2 separate regions of the Homo sapiens genome follow, and region 2 is linked to region 1. Evidence: promoter capture Hi-C in 16 types of primary human blood cells and fetal thymus (Javierre and others, 2016). All regions are on one chromosome and are shown on one strand. Each heading gives the region's core, a stretch centred on a gene start or on the middle of the fragment in contact. The rest is flanking DNA. Distances are from core to core; before and after follow the strand shown.

Region 1 (5,731 bases), core at 1,843-4,342:
TACCGTAAGGAAAGTAATTCTAGATTTACACTGTTCTGGTTACATCTTCGCTCACAGAGATTCGATATCAAAGGGCAGAGCTCTTGTAATTTACTGTGCCTCAGTTTCTGGAACACAGATACAATGAATTCCTCTCCTTACAAGGTTATTCTAACAATGCATTAAAATAATGGCTATGGAAATATTTCAGAAAAGGCATAATGTATTATAAAAATTCAAAGCTGAGATCTATTTACTTCAGCATATATAAAATTCCCCCTGAATAGGGGACATTTTGTTACTCTGAGAAGAGACAATTTCCCTCTGAATTTCTCCCAGTTTCTTCCTGATACCTCCTGTGTTCTGAAATGCAGATTCTAGTGCAATTGGGCCTCAGAAAGAACTGGACCCTTTACAATGTGAAAGTCACCAAGTGCAATGATTCTAGCCAAAGTGACCCATTTTAAAAGATGACCCATTTCAAAACCCATGAGTTATTATTCAAGCTGTTCTATTTTTGAGAATTAGAAAGTTTTCTTTTTCTTTTTTTTTTTTTTTACAATCTCACCATTTGAATGTCTTTTATGAAAAGAGAAAACTGATCACCATTTTAATGAAATACAATGTTTCATTTTTTACTTGATGGGGCCTGCACTTTATTTTGAAAACTCTTCTGCACCTTCTGAGTTTTCTCTGGGCAGAGCAGTTATAAGCATCTCTACCTCCTACTCATCCTCATCTCCCACTTTCTCAGGAACAGCTGCTCTGAGCTTTGGCTTGGGCCTTTCCTGTGATAACACTGGTTCTACCTTAGAGCCTTGCAGGGCCGGGAAGGGTCAGCCTGAGTCAGCCTCCTCCTCAGAGTGCTCAGTCAATGCTCAGAGCGTGTGCGGGAGGATAAGGAAGAGTGAGAAGGACAAGCAGGTTAAGTACAGAATGGAAACCTTTCTGGTATTGCGTTTAGCTTGCTTTAAAAGCAAAGAGTTGGCCCCAAAAAGCAGCTTTCACCTCCTCACTTGTGACCAGATAGAAAATCTACCATAAATTTATTTTGAGAAAGTTATAACGTCTGCTGCTGATCACTAATCACCCTTTCAGAAAGTTCAGGGTGGAATCATTTCGGTGCCACCACTTAATACAACTACCTTCAATCATCCTTTTCTGGGTCAACTTCGGCTTTTCACATTCCTCTCCCATCCCCCACAGGGAACAGGCAAGGTTTCCCAAAATAAAGGCACAGACGCACAAATCCAATTCTGATGGATGTACTTTCATCAGATAATTACCATAAATATGAGCCTCAGGCCACCATCGGCCACTGTGCGGTTACCACATCGGTGTACCTTTAACATGATCCATAACCTAAGAAAACCAACACCGGCCAAGAATGTACAGGGTGTAGTCAAGAGTCGAGTTGAAAACTGTTACTTTTACCTATATGGTATCCAAGCAAGCAATTGCCTCTGTCACATCAGGATTCAAAATGAAATGAGGCAGAGTCAAAGGAAAGAGTGGCCACGACCTCCCCGCCAGGGAGATCTGCGGCTGCAGTCTCCCCGCCTGCCCACTTCCCTGTCCCCATTTCCCCCGCCAGTAACTCGCCGAAAGCGTTCTCAGGTTGGCGGTTTCTTCTTTCCAGCCCGACACGGGCTTTCGACTCGAATTCAGCCCTCCAGCCGGAGGCGGGTGGCCGCAAGCCTGGGGCCCCCGGCCGGCAACCGAATTGGTGGGCGCGGCGTTCGCCTCGCGGCTCCCGCGCACGGGCCTGTCCCGCCACCGAGGAGCCGGAGCTCCTCAGGGACGGGGACCCGCAGGCCCCGGGAAGCCGCCCCAACCGGAGCTGCCCGGCCCCCGAGCCTACCTGCCGCACCTGGGCGGCGGCCCGGCCTGGGTCCCAGCCGCTGGCCACCCGCGCGGGCAGGCCGGAGGGAACAAAGGCGTTCCGGGGAGGGGACGAGCCTCCTTCTCCGCCGCGCTTTCAGAGGGCGGGCTGCCGGGGCCCGCGGTGGGAGAGGCCTCCCCGGCTTCCCGACTTCCCGGCGCTGGGCCGTGCGCGGTCCGGGCCAGGGCGGCGGGCCCCGATCCGGTGTCCACGCCAGCCACGCGCCCCCGGCCCAAGCGCGCGTTCCCACCTGAAGTCCTGGCGCCACCCGCCGGGCGAGGGCCGGCGTGCCCTCACCTCCTCGCCACTCTTCTCCTCCAGAGACCTCGCTCGGCCCGGAGTGGGCAGACTCGGAGCCTCCCGCGCCGGAGACCGCGAGCCGCTCGGCCGAGGAGGCGCGGCGGGGCGGGGGCGGGGCGGAGGGGCCGGCCCGCAGCCCCCAATGCCGGGAGCCCGCGCTGGAGACCCAGGGAGCCCAGCTCGGGGCCGCGGCACGGAGAACGAACCATCCGTGGCCTGGAGACGTATCCCGCCGAGCGGCCAGAACTTTCCCCATTTAGCGATCCGGAAAGGAAGCCAACACTCCCACCCAGAGAGGCCTCGGCCGCGGAAAGATGCGGCCGCGGCACAGCCGTGTTTTCACCACGTAACTGACCACAGACTAACTCCGCGCGGAACCACCGGCCCAGGGCGCTCCGCCAAGAGGCGGACTGTGCTGGCCTCGCGGGCCCTACGCCCAGGGAACGCCGCGGTTCCTCCCACACGGGACACCGGTTCCGCAGCGCCGCGGATTAGGATGGTCTTTTACTTTCCGAGCGGGAGCTCTAACGCAGGCTCAGGCGGGTCTTGTTAAAAGGTTTCTGGTCACACCACTTATGCGTGGAGCTCTGGGGGCCTCAGTAACAAAGTAAGGAAACTTACAGCAAACTAGGGCTGCACTGCCGCTGTCCGTTTCTAAAATACGAGAAGAGGGGGAAACCCCGCCCCAGGCCAGCTTCCCAGTGACTTTACCTCCAAGTCCAGCTTCATTTCAAGGGCAGTTTAGAGCGAAACTCACGAAGTTCAAGCCCAGCTCTTTAAATGTCCAAATCGGAGGTCGGCTTTCCTTCCCGCATCGGAGCTAAAGTCGCTGGTCTCAAGAACAAAACTTGCGGGCTTTAAATCTTGGGCGAGGACTGGACGGGCAGCGCTGGACTGGGCTCGCTTCCCCGGCGGGATGCGGGCTGTATGCGGGCGGGATGGGGGCGGGCCCGGGCGGGGGCGCGAGGCTCCCAGCCGCGCGCCCCGCACTCTCGGCGTCACGGCCCGAGCCCGGCCCCGCCCGCCAGCCGCCACCCTCCCGGCGCGTAGGTGAAGGTGATGGGCCCCGCCCCAGTTTGTTCTTGTCTGTAGATGAGAATTCCAGGAAGTGTTTCCCTGCCGCTCGTCAGTTAATTGCGATCACTTACTCAAATGGCCAACTGGAAGCCAGAGTGCACATGAATGTCCTCTTTGAGCTATTTTCCTCCTTTAGAATACTTCATGCAGGTAACCAGACAATATCGAGAGATGCGGACTTCTACTCAACGAGAGAGATTATAAATGAATCCTGGATGCGCTTGATTTCTTGTTTCCCGCATGTTGTTAGACCTCTCCCTAAAGCCACAAAACATTTAACGGAGATAATATTTTGAGCGATTCTGTTATTGTACATATTTCAGAACATGACAGAAAAGCAAAAGATTAACCCAAATACTTTAGTAAAATAAAAGCTTTGAGTTTGTCGTAAAAGGAACAAGACAGGTAATGAGTTAAATGTATGATTGTCGAATCAGGGTTTAAAACAGTGGGGCCAGCAGACACGGTGGCTCACACCTGTAATCCCATCACTTTGGGAGGCTGAGCCGCAGGAGGATTGCTTGATCCCAGGAGTTAGAGACCAGCGTGGCCAACATAGCAAGACCCCATCTCTAAAAGAAAAAACACACACACAAAATGAAAACTGTTGTTCATTCAAACTAGATTTTTAGGAAGTTTTTAAATTGCTTTCCTTAAGCTGGTCAGCATCTTTTAAATCATGCAGTTCTTTTCATATGCTGCCTACACAGGGCATGGCTCAGCATCTCCCAGACTGTGGCACTGCATGTTCATCAGACCACAGACAGAAATATTTACATGTGTGATTTGCAAAGGAGTCATTGACAGTGACCCACAAATAAGCTGATTCATTGTTAATACAGCACTAATGACATACCTTCTCTAATAAAATGCTGACTGAAATCCCACATGCATTTCCCCCAGCCATCACATGTGTATGTTGTATATCTGTGCAAATATTCAATTACAATTATATTCCTTTCAGATCATTTGGAGCTAGGTCCATGTGTCAGTATACATATGTTCCACATACATGAGCACATAGAACTGTACCCACGAGAAATACAAACTGACCAAAACAGTGGTAGACACACATACAAATCACATATTCACATCATACTAGATACAGATAAACACACCAGATAGATAAATGGTTTCAAAAGTATGTCTGGAGATTGGAAATACGATGCAAGTTTTTTGGTGGTAGGAGGGAGAGATGAGAGGGTGTGAAGGAGAGATAGGCAAGGTCAAGTAGTCCAGAATGCCCACTCTGGGATCCACACAAGCTCAGATCACACATGCGAGAGGACAGGCAAGTCCCCTTTGCTTGTTAGGGAAGATTTCCTAGAGCAGCCTGGCTTCCTGTCCCACCCAGAGAGAGGGGAAGAGAATGACAGATTTGATGGTATTGATGGTGCTATGCTCAGTTACTTTTATCAAGAGGGAGTGCATGAAGATATTGAGATGTGTTAGAAATAAACTTAGGTAATAATAATGATGCTGACTTGGCCAGCATGAAGAAGGAGGACCGTGTTGGCATGCTTTCCTTATCCAAGTAGCAGCTGGTAAGCAGAGAGCCCTGTGATTAGATCTATACATGACTTTGGAATGACCAAAATCTGCATGTTAGACTCGGCAGGGATAGATAAGGCACAGAAAGAGCAGAGGAGTAGCAGATTTAGGAGAGATGATCAGAGAGTAAGGCACATGCATCATTAGTAGTGGGGAGGGGAGACTAAACCCTGAGTACAAGAGAACCTGGGAGATGGTGGGAGCAACAGGGGCCCAAGGAAGAGGCCTGTGTTACTAAAATCATGAAAGGAGAAGCAGGTCTGATAACCGAGTGGCTTAACACAGCTGAAGTGTAGCAGCAGTATCAGGCTTGACCTGTTTAGCGAAATTTGTCTTTCTGGATTCTGTTAGACCAGATTTCCTCACAGGCCCTATAGGGAACCTGTCCAGTGAATCTGTGAATTCAAACACATCACGGGCCATGTATTCTGAAGCAGGCCGGTGTTCATTCAAGGCCTGGGCTGTTAGAGAGACTCTGGTTGTTTCCTGACCTGGCTTCCTACACAGGATCTCTGGCAAGTTAGCAAACTTCTCTGTGCCCACAGTAATACCTGCCTGCAAGGGTGGGTGAGGATTAGTGCAATCGCAGTGACGGGTGGAGTGCTGAGCTCAGAGCCTGGGCTATCCCAATGGGCGGATGAATGGTCAGCATCCTTGAGCCCATCACAGGTTGCAGAAAGCTCCTCTCACCTGGCAGAGGTAGGCTCATGCTGTGTCCTGTCATCGTGCTGTAAAGGATCTGCTGTGTTTCACACCTCTGGGAATTTCACATCTGTTGATACAGCATCACCATTCAGACGATGCCCTATCTCCTTGGCTCCGCCGCCTCTTTCTCTGCCCCCCGGCCACCTCCCACCACACGCAGCCTTCCTTGGTGTTCTCTTCTCCGCACACATGCTCCTTGCTGATCTCACCCATTGTCTTTAATCTTGACTTACATTT
Region 2 (5,731 bases), core at 2,131-4,630, 530 kb before region 1:
TACAACCATTTTACTAAACCATTTCTCAGTTTCTTATAAACATATATGTACCCTATGATCAGGCTGTTCTGCAGAAAAATATCTGTGTAAGAATATTTATGGCAGTTTTATCCATGACAGCAAAAACAAACAAAAAAACCTGGAAATAATCCAAATGTCCATCAACAGGAAAGTGGAATCATGGAACAAAAATAGAATCACTCTGGCTGGGTGCGGTGGCTCACGCCTGAAATCCCAGCACTTTGGGAAGCCGAGGCAGGCAGATCACCTGAGGTAAGGAGTTCGAGACCAGCCTGGCCCACATGGTGAAACCCTGTCTCTACGAAAAATACAAAAATTAGCTGGGCATGGTGGCAGGCGCCTGTAATCCTAGCTACTCGGGAGGCTGAGGCAGGAGAATCACTTGAACCCAGGAGACAGAGGTCGTAGTGAGCTGAGATCACGCCATTGTACTCCAGCCTGGGGGACACGAGCGAGACGTCATCTCAAAAAATAAAAAAATTAAAAAACTCAAGAATTGGCCAGGCGCGGTGGCTCATGTCCGTAATCCTAGCACTTTGGGAGGCTGAGGCGGGTGGATCACCTGAGGTCAGGAGTTCGAGACCAGCCTGACCAACATAGAGAAACCTCGTCTCTACTAAAAATACAAAATTAGCCAGGCTTGGTGGCGAATGCCTGTAATCCCAGCTACTCGGGAGGCTGAGGCAGGAGAATCGCTTGAACCCGGGAGGCAGAGGTTGCAGTGAGCCAAGATCGCACCACTGCACTCCAGCCTGGGCAACAAGAGCGAAACTCTGTCTCAAAAAAATTAAAAAATTAAAAAATTAACTCAAGAATAAAAAAGAATAAACGATTAACACACATATAGATAAATCTTGGAAACATTACGTTGAATAACAGAAGCCAGACATAAAAGACTACATACTATATAATTCCACTGACATGAAGTTCAAGAAAGACAAAAGCTAATCTATGGTGAAAGAAACAGAAAAATGGTGATAGAAAAAAAAAATTTTTTTTTTTTTAAGACAGGGTGTTGCTCTATCGCCCAGGCTGGAGAGCAGTGGCACCATCATGGCTCACTGTAGCCTCAACTTCAAAGGCTCAAGCCATCCTCCCACCTCAGCCTCCTGAATGGCTGGGACCACAGGCATGTGCCACCATGGCCCAGGTAGTTTCTTTTTTTTTGAGACGGAGTCTTGTTCTGTCGCCAGGCTGGAGATCTACGCTTATGATCTATGCATTATTTTATTATATCTTTAAGGATGTGGGGCTAAAAGGAAAAAGCATTTAAAGCTTTGAATTTTCTTGAGCCTGGTTTGGGTTGTTTCCATAGGTTTTAATATCAAGTACTGTTGTGATGGTTAATTTTATGTCAACTTGAGTGGGCTGAGGGATGCCCAGATACCTGGTAAAATATTTCTGCAAGAGACCAGCATTTGGATTAGCAGACAGAGTAAAGAAGATCCGCCCTCGCCAACGTGGGCAGACATCATCCAATCTGTCAAGGACCTGAATAGAACAAAAAGGCGGACAATGGGCGAATTCTCTCTCTCTTCTTAAGCTGAGACATCAATCTTCTCCTACCCTTAGACATCAGAGCTCCTGGTTCTCAGGCCTTCAGACTCCAGGACTTAATGCCAGTGTGCCCCTCACTCCCATGCCCACCAGTTCGCAGGCCTTTGTAGTCAGACTGAATCACACCACTAGCTTTCCTGATCTCCAGCCTGCTAACAGCATGTCGTGGGACTCCTTGGTCTCCATAATCACAGGAGCCAATTCTCATAATAAATTTCCTCTTAATATCTATATATATTATATTTGTTCTGTTTCTCTGGAGAACCCTAATAAAATTGTCATTTGTATTAACAGCTAAATCATCCGTAATTTATTTGGATTTTTTTAACCCAAGAATTTAGAAGAGTATTTTAATTGTCAAGTTTTTTGGTTGTTATTGATTTGACTTTTTTATTGAGTAACAGAATGAAGCACATTGGATGCTACTTTTGAAATATGCTAAGAGATTCTCTTTGTGGCCAAGTATATAATCAATTTGTTAATGTTCCACAGATATACAAGCAAAATGTGTATTCTGTGTCTCAATGATACAGAATTAAGCCTGTTAGTACTGTTATTCCAATACAAATCCTTTATAATAAAAAAGATTTATCCACTTGATTAGCTAAATGCTGAGAGACATGTTAAAATTCTTCTCTGTGACTGCAGTTTTATCAAATTCTCCTCATATTCCTAATAGTCTTTGCACTTTATGTATTTTGCTGCCAGAGTTCACTGCATAAACATTTGTGCCATTTTATCTTCATTGTGGACAGCAATACTCCTCTCAGCGCCAAATCCAAAAAAACCAGAAAAGGCATAAATAAATAAATGCATTCTACTGGTTGTGTTCAAAAACTAGTTGAGGAGCCCAATAGTGGACAAGCAACTACGAAAAACAGACAAAAGGCTGCAGAAGAAAGCCTCGCCAAGTGATAAAAGCCTTACGTGGGACACGCCAGGAGAATCTGCCACAGAAGCGTGGAAAAACGCTAGATAAGCTCCACATCTGGAGATAGCAGAAGCTTGAGGCAACCAGAAGGGTGATGTGTTGGGTACTGTGGCAAGAGCAGCCAGTTCTATTCAGTTTCCAGTGTTCTCCATGCCCTGCGCCCCCGCTTCCTCCTTCCTGTGGTGCTTGCTGTGTTGGTGTGAGATATATCCACATATGTAGTTGGAAAAGGGAAGAGTATTTTAACAGCTCTTTCAAATACTGTTGTTACTCTTCTCTGATGCTACACTAAAGCTCAACAAGTGGAAGTTTCTTCAAGTTTAGTTGTATTATGCAATCTGAAACCACAGCAATTTAAAGTTTTCTCTGTTAGATCTTGAGTCAGAAAGATAAAAAATTAAAAAAAAAAAAAAAAAAAGTAAAGGCCAGGTGCGGTGGCTCACGCCTGTAATCTCAGTTCATTGGGAGGCCGAGGCGGGCAGATCACGAGGTCAAGAGATCGAGACCATCCTGACCAACGTGGTGAAACCCCGTCTCTAGTAAAAATACAAAAATTAGCTGGACATGGTGGCGGGCACCTGTAATCCCAGCTACTCGGGAGGCTGAGGCAGGAGAATTGCTTGAACCCAGGAGGCGGAGGCTGCAGTGAGCCGAGATCGTGCCACTGCACTCCAGCCTGGCGACAGAGCAAGGCTGTGTCTCAAAAAAATATATAAAAAATAAATAAATAAATAAAAATAAAGTTTTCTCTGTCAAGTTAAAATCCGTTGGTCAGGGACTTTTGCTTCCACATAGGAAACAGAGGGCTATAAAGCACGGTTGCTCCTACCCTAACAAGAAAAGGCTGAATACACTACAAAATCTTATTTTTTTGAAACATATTGGAGGGCTGAAATCTCAAAGTAGCCAAGTAACCTGAAGATTAAAGATAGCCAGTCCCTGCAAGGAGGGAGGGGCAACAGGAACTGTCTCACCTGTGCACTGCTGCAACACAAGCAGGTGTGAAATCTAAGGAAGATTTAAAAGAACTGTCTACAGTGAACTGCAGGGCCTTGTATCTGTTTAACATGGGTAAGGACATTCGACAAAAAAGAACAAAAGAGGACACCAAATGCTGGTAATTTGAAAAGATCAATACAACTGATAAACCTCTAGCTAGACTGATCAATAAAAAGAGGACACATAATTACCAAAAGCAAGAATGAAAACGGGCTGGGCGTGGTGGCTTGTGCCTGTAATCCCAGAACTTTCGGAGGCCGAGGCGGGCAGACCACGAGGTCAGGAGTTCGAGACCAGCCTGACCAACATGGTGAAACCCTGTCTCTATTAAAAATACAAAAATTAGCTGGGCGTGGTGGTGGACTCCTGTAATCGCAGCTACTCGTGAGGATGAGGCAGGCGAACTGCTTGAACCCAGGAGCCTGGGCAACAGATAAAGACTCTGTCTCAAAAAATATATATAAAAAGAAAAGAAATAAACAACCTGAACAGTCCCGTATCTAGTAAATAAACTGAAACTGTAGTTTAAAACAGTAATATAAAAACCTTCTCAATTAGGAAAACTCCAGGCTAATATGGCTTTTACAGGTATATTCAATTAAACAGTTAAGAAACAGTACCAATTCTATATAAACTCTTCCAATAAAGAGAAAAGAAAGGAAAAGCTTCCACTTCATTTTATGAGGCCAGTATTATCCTGATACCAAACCAGACAGAAATTACTAAGAAAACTACTGACCAGTATCACTTGCAAAAACTCTAAACAAGGCCAGGAGCGGATCACGCCTGTAATCCCAGCACTTTCGGAGGCCGAGGCGGGCAGATCACCTGAGGTCACGAGCTGGAGACCAGCCTGACCAACATGGAGAAACCCCATCTCTACTAAAAACACAAAATTAGCTGGGCATGGTGGTGCATGCCTGTAATCCCAGCTACTCACTCACTGTCTGGATACTATAGCTGAAACTGGCCCATTCTGGATCTTCCACGTGAAGCCCCTCTGGAGAAATTTTACAACAAAGTGTCAAGAAAGCTTTGTTTCTTCTAAAGAAATATGCGTTTTTTTCTTTCTCACAAATAGTGTGACTTTAAAACTGACCATGCTTCTCATTTTGTCTTTGCTATCACATTTATACCTTGATTTTTTTAACTGTGCAAGATATCTTAAGTGTTTGCATATGAGAATAACACCTGGGTCCTTAATTTTCTCATTCTACTTATATTTTCCCAAACCTCAAGATTCATTTTTGTTTTTCTATATTTTTTATTGTTCATTTTTTCTTTTTTTTTCTTTTTTTTTTTTTTTTTGAGACAGAATCTTGCTCTGTCGCCCAGGATGGAGTGCAATGGCACGATCTCGGCTCACTGCAACCTCCGCCTCCCGGGTCCAAGCGATTCTCCTGCCTTAGCCTCCCGAGTAGCTGGGACTATAGGCACGCACCACTGCACCTGGCTAATTTTTGTATTTTTAGTAGAGACGGGGTTTCACTATGTTGGCCATGTTGGCCAGGCTGGTCTCCAACTCCTGACCTCAGGCAATCCACCCACCTTGGCTTCCCAAAGTGCTGGGATTACAGACGTGAGCGACCACTCCTGGCCTTATTGTTCATTTTCTTATGTAACCTTAATTTCTTTGTGAAAAGAGAGAAACTACATGTAAATATGTAAATAAATGCCATAATCACCCCATATTTGGGGTGTGTGCATGGGCGTATTTACCTGTGTAAACAATGTGGTTTTCTGTCCAGAGATGACTTTTAGCGTTTGTTGTCCTTGTGCAGAAGATGTGCTGACTCCCAGTGTTCCTTGGACCACTGACCCAGTGGTGAGTTGTTTTCCAGAAGTCTGGGGTGATGGCTGGCCAACTAAAAATGTGCCCTAAGTTAGAAAAAAATATAAAGAACTAATCGGTAATTTGTTAAATTCAGATGGGCTGTTCTGATCCCTTAAATCACATGTAACGTCCCATGTTACAAGCTACAACGCTCTCCCCTTTAATTCTGCAATGTAGGCAAAATAATTCAAAAGAATAGTTGTGCTCTAAGTGTTACTTCCATTAGTTATCCCCACTTCTCAAACTTTGCACTGTAGTTACAGAGCAGCCTGTTGAAAACTCATGTTTTGCAACTTAGTCCTCAAAACTGGATTTAATCATTCAGACTGATATCATCTTTCTCAATAAGAACATCTGGAACCAAAATTCTATTACTTTCCTTCAAAAAG

What was found. The method cuts DNA at HindIII sites, captures the fragments that hold promoters and counts their contacts. A CHiCAGO score of 5 or more calls a contact.
Region 2: a contact is called between a fragment that was not itself captured here and the fragment with the promoter of B3GNT5 in region 1, in 1 of 17 cell types (M2 macrophages). The highest score is 5.1, in M2 macrophages.

What each region holds. Positions count from the first base shown.
Region 1 is chr3:183,250,614-183,256,344 of GRCh38, reverse strand. It overlaps B3GNT5 (UDP-GlcNAc:betaGal beta-1,3-N-acetylglucosaminyltransferase 5), which reads right to left and starts at 3,092. Exons shown (of 2, transcript NM_032047.5): 1 at 2,873-3,092. The region is part of intron 15 of MCF2L2 (MCF.2 cell line derived transforming sequence-like 2); the gene reads left to right. It overlaps LOC124906310 (a long non-coding RNA gene), which reads right to left. Exons shown (of 3, transcript XR_007096189.1): 2 at 5,480-5,561; 3 at 3,790-3,810. The HindIII fragment of the contact is 12,746 bases long and covers 1-3,614 here.
Region 2 is chr3:183,777,197-183,782,927 of GRCh38, reverse strand. YEATS2 (YEATS domain containing 2) reads right to left here. Exons shown (of 31, transcript NM_018023.5): 19 at 5,228-5,386. Among named protein-coding and RNA genes, the nearest start is that of YEATS2-AS1, 30 kb to the left of the region's middle. The HindIII fragment of the contact is 1,591 bases long and covers 2,585-4,175 here.